Regions from separate parts of the Homo sapiens genome. Here region 2 is linked to region 1. Evidence: promoter capture Hi-C in human tissues and cell types (Jung and others, 2019). All regions are on one chromosome and are shown on one strand. Each heading gives the region's core, a stretch centred on a gene start or on the middle of the fragment in contact. The rest is flanking DNA. Distances are from core to core; before and after follow the strand shown.

Region 1 (2,569 bases), core at 51-2,550:
CGCAGAGCCCAAGGGCCGCCGAGGCCTCCTCGCCCCTACTCCCTCCTCTACCTTCCCTCACCGGCCGGAAGACGAGGCTCTCCGCCAGGGGGAGCGCGCCGAGGCCCGGGGGTGACCGCCTCGAACATGCTTGCCCCGGGCCCCGGGGACGCTGTTGGTGTTAAAGGGGGCCCACGGGCAATTGCTGCATCCGGGCTAAGAGCTGGGGCTCCGATTCGACTGTTTGAGTAAACGAGTCGGTATCATTAATAATGACAATTGCACAAAAGAAAATAGGAAAGAAACCCCCTTTCCTGGCGCCGAACCAGGCCCGCCTTGGCTCGGAGCCACCGGCTCTTCTGGGTTTTCGGGGCAGCTGGCAAGAGGGAGGCAGGCAGAGGAGGCGGCTCCGGGTCCGACTGCCAAGCTGACCAGGGCGGTGAGCCCGTGACTCCTGGCGGCGGCCCAGACCCGGGTGCTGGCGTGCAGGGGAAGGCGACGGCCGCTGCGCGCTGGTTCCCGGACCCTGCCCAGCGTGGCGTGGAGACCGACGGCCGCACAGGGGTCACCGGTATCCACATGGACACCTCCTAATCGAGCTTTGTTCACCAGAGGGCTAGGCCCTTCTTTCCCTGGCGCTTCTCTTCCCCCCGCGACACAGCTCTTCCCCCTACTCCTTCCCGGGAGAGCGCGCACCCATGCAGTGGCCTCCATCTGGACGCCACGGGGCTCGGAGAGGCGATGACCCCTGGCAGCCCAGGCCGGTATCGAATTAAGTAAAAATTTTGAATGCCCAGGTGGCTGCGCGTAGAGCGGCAGCAGGCCGGGCTGGCGGCGCCCAGGTGCCCAGCGGAGGGCCAGGCGCTCAGAGCGCACAGCCGGCCGCCACCTCGGCCCCTGCCCCCCGCCCCGGGGTACCTCTGGCCTGTCGGGTGGGGTCGGGTCGCTGCGGCCGCGGCGGAACCCGGCTCCGGACCTGGATCACAGCATCCAGCGCGCGGCCGGCGAGGCGCCTCCTGTTACCCTGGGGCCGGCGTCCCTCGTCCCATCGGAGCGAGCGAGGATGCTGCGGTGCCCGGCGACAGGTCGTCGGATAGCATTGACAGCACCTTCCTTTCAAGGTGCTTTATGCCTGCCCTCTCCACGTGCGGAGGGCAGGGTGACCAACGCAAAAACCTGAGCTGCGCCTCCAGACCCGTGCGCCCCTTTGATGGGCATCTGTGGTGTTTATCTGTCCCCCGAAAGCGGTGACCGAGAAGTAAATAAATGGGCGAGAGGTGGTAAAATCCTGGCAGTATTTCCGCTCGTCCTGTCGCGAACTACATATCCCAGGGAGCCCGGGGCGCCGGGACGCGTGTCCACCCCGCCATCCACTTGGAGAAGGCGTTACTGAGCCTGGCCCGACGCACGGGCCAATCCCCTCGCCCTACACCTTGGCTGGAACCTGAGACGGATTCGCTCCCAAATGATGCTCCAGTGGCAGGAGCAACTCAAGTTCATCATTGTCCTGAGAGAGAGGAGCAGCGCGGTTCTCGGCCGGGACAGCAGAACGCCAGGGGACCCTCACCTGGGCGCGCCGGGGCACGGGCTTTGATTGTCCTGGGGTCGCGGAGACCCGCGCGCCTGCCCTGCACGCCGGGCGGCAACCTTTGCAGTCGCGTTGGCTGCTGCGATCGGCCGGCGGGTCCCTGCCGAAGGCTCGGCTGCTTCTGTCCACCTCTTACACTTCTTCATTTATCGGTGGATCATTTCGAGAGTCCGTCTTGTAAATGTTTGGCACTTTGCTACTTTATTGCTTCTTTCTGGCGACAGTTCCAGCACTCGCCGAGACCGGCGGAGAAAGGCAGCTGAGCCCGGAGAAGAGCGAAATATGGGGACCCGGGCTAAAAGCAGACGTCGTCCTTCCCGCCCGCTATTTCTATATTCAGGCAGTGGATACATCAGGGAATAAGTAAGTCGAGAAACGGCTCCTTACCTATTTTGGATGGCGGTTAAATCTGTTTCTCCCTTTAAGATTTTTCTTTCCAAGAACTCGTTTCTCCACAGCAGTTTATATTCCAGGATATTTGGTTACCCATTTTTCTCTGTAGCTGTAGAAATTGTTCCGAATTATAATATATGCAATATAATGTATTGTATATAACATATAAAATAATCTCCTAGCAATTTTGATTCAGATTCCCACATTATCAGGGCAAGACAAAGTCCCTCCACTTTGCTGGAAATACTGTTTCTAACTACTTTTCGCATAAGCTATTATAAGGGATTTAAACCTAGTTGTTAGAGACTTGATGGGCTTCATCTTTCTCTGGTGCGGCCCTCAATTTTCAAGGAGACATCTGCAGGTAAGCATGTTTTGAAACTGAAAAAGAAAAATGAAGTACTATTTGAAACTTCAGAGTTCGGAAGGAAAGTATCGAAGTATTAATCTCCTATATGATTGTAACAAATATTTTGTTCCAATGAATTTAATACTTTAACATCATACTTAAAACTTATTTTTATAATTCCTATACTTCTGAAATGATTGTCTCTATTATTGGTGGATGCTGACTGTGTGTATTTCATACAGAAAAAAATACTGGAATAA
Region 2 (2,569 bases), core at 36-2,535, 340 kb before region 1:
AACCATTTTTAAATTTATTTTTAAGCAAGAGTAACCATCTTTAAAACAAATGTGACAGGTAATCCCAAAATATAAAACGGACCAAGTGGAACTTCAGGAGGACAGACTCTCTGCTTGGCTCTTAGCACATCCCCAGGAAACCTCATCAGAAGTTAGAGCTCATGGGACCATAGTGTCAAAACCACTGAGGCTCAGGCTGTCACGCGCTGAACAGGGAACATAACAGACTTGGAATAGACATGTACTCTCTCTCTTCTGGCTTATCTTCTTTGCATTTAGCTGAGGTTGCTTCATAAACAAGTTCTAGCTCTAAGGGCAGGGAGGGGAGTGGTAGGTGACTTTCCCCCAATATGAAATTGAAGTTCTCATCTTAGAGCTATACAAAGTAAACTAGCATCTGTGTTGGCAGTTCTCTGAGTTTTAAGTTGTGGATATTGTGTTAAAACAGAGATCCAAGTCATTAAACACGAACAGCAGGCATGAAAGAAAATAACTCTTGCACAGTACCGTTTCATATTGTTGTAACCAGAATTATAAAGGTAAAAATGAGTCCCATCTAGGGATAAAGGAAGAATTTTTACTTGACATCAAGAGCATGTGATTGATGCAGGGCCATTTCCCAACAAAAAAGCATCCAGCACAAAATATTATTTCATTATCTTTTCCAGCTTTTTTGAGGTATAATTTACAAATAAAAGTTGTATATATTTAAGATGTACAACATGTTTTGATACACATTGTGAAAGGATTACCAGCTTCAAACTAATTAACATATTCATCACCTCACAGAGTTAATATTTGTTGTATATTATGACAATACCTAAGATCAATATCTTAGCAAATTTCAAGTATTCAATATAGTATTGTTAACAATAGTCACCATGCTGTACATTAGATCTCCAGAACTCATTCAAAAAAATATTATCTATATAAAAATATTATAACAGCTACAAATGCACTATAAAAGGTATGGGTGAGAGTCTATTGTTTGTTTGTTTTTAATTTTCCTTCCATTGTAAGGAGATGGGGAGAGAAAACTGGTTCATTGCACTTTTTGGCAGCTGAACTCTGTTCTCTGATTGGCATGTCTTTGCTTCTCTCCTCCCCAGGCAGAGACCACTCAGCTCTGCCTGAGGCTCATGTCTCTGGCTAAGCTTCCTGGCTTCTGCTTGTCACTCTCAGCCTGAGCATCTCCTCCAGCCCCTTGGCTTCACCACTTCCCCTCAAGGGACCTTGTCCACTATGACTCCCTCGACCTCTAGATAAAACGGTTCAGTTCCACATGCACCAGGGCACTAGATACCCTTTGCATGTCTTTATCTTTCAATTTAGCTGATGGCCCTTGGCTCACATTTAATGGAAACTTTCATTCTGCCAGAGGGGATTGCTTTATCTAGCTTTTTTATACAAAAGTTCAGCCATTGAATCGGCTTGGTAGGTGACCTGTGTGGCCCAGCAAGAGTGTCAGGAAGCCATTTTTTCCTTCTCAGTTCATCAGAAGTGTTCCTTGCACCCCCATATAGAATTGCCCCACAGCACACTGGCAGCTCAACATTTGAAGGTGTTTTCTAGGAATGCAGCAAAATGCCCTAAAATGTCCTCATATGAGGCCAAAACGTCCAACCTGAATAAAAACTCATAAATTTACCTGGAACTATATTGCTGTCTCTGGTCCAGTCTCCATGGGAAGACATCCAATACTTACAACCAACAAATTTATGTAATCTTTTGAGTTTCCAAGTCTAAGAAAAAAAGTGGCACAAAGCCAGGTTTAGGTGAAGTCTAACAATGGGGATCACCCACAAGTTGAATGTTAAGCTGGGGAAAATAACAAGTGCTCATCAATTATTTTCTAAAGTTACTCTGGACAAGACCCAAGAGAATACCATTACTCCAGTCCCTGCAATGCCTTTTATGCCAGCCAAGTGCAAACCTGAACAAACAACCCTTCTCTTGGCAAGGCAGGCAGGTCTTTAAAGGAATCCGACTGCTGCTGACTGCGCCCCAGTCTGCTTTTATCAGAAGATCGAAGGAGCTGGATGGGCAGCCTCGTTCCCAACAGGCTGTTTCCACTGTCTGCTGCAGAGAGCAATGCCCCCTGGGGTTAATACACTGCATAAGAGACAGAGTGAAAACTGACCAGTGACCACCAAGGGGGAAGCTGGGGCCTCCATCAGCCACACCATCTGAGGAGCCCCACATCACATCAGAGAGACTGAGAGACAGAGCCTGGCCAGCGCCTTCAATCGTGTTCCTGGTGCCTGGGAGTCCATTGAGAAGCATCAAGCTGGCCTGAGCTTCTTTTAACCTCAAGAACAAAGACCAGTGTGAGTGGGGATCAGAAAAAGAGTGAAAGGAGAAAGGGACAAATTAGAACAAAATGCCAGGGTGATAAAGGGAACAGAAGCAACATGCACCCAACTGTTTGAAGTCAAGGGCTCCCGAGGAGAAGGCAGGTTCTCCTTCCCTTTGCAAGGTCACTAGTCACAAGCATGCGACCACAGGGTAGCCTCAGGCAGCCCTGAGATCTCCTTTTCCCTCGCAGTTAGGTGAGCATAGGATGTGGCAG

Evidence for each region. Contacts are between HindIII fragments. The study calls those that stand out against the background at their distance.
Region 2: a fragment that was not itself captured here is called in contact with the fragment with the promoter of BIVM in region 1 in 1 of the 25 tissues and cell types used here (lymphoblastoid cells).

Annotation. Positions count from the first base shown.
Region 1 is chr13:102,797,850-102,800,418 of GRCh38, reverse strand. It overlaps BIVM (basic, immunoglobulin-like variable motif containing), which reads right to left and starts at 1,300. Exons shown (of 11, transcript NM_017693.4): 1 at 898-1,300. POGLUT2 (protein O-glucosyltransferase 2) reads left to right here and starts at 1,443. Exons shown (of 10, transcript NM_024089.3): 1 at 1,443-1,930. The coding sequence starts at 1,749. RefSeq lists silencers at 1-103, 134-183, 744-1,013 and an enhancer at 1,074-1,293. The HindIII fragment of the contact is 13,413 bases long and covers 1-2,569 here.
Region 2 is chr13:103,133,096-103,135,664 of GRCh38, reverse strand. No RefSeq gene overlaps it. Among named protein-coding and RNA genes, the nearest start is that of SLC10A2, 68 kb to the right of the region's middle. RefSeq lists an enhancer at 1,290-1,349. The HindIII fragment of the contact is 6,276 bases long and covers 1-2,569 here.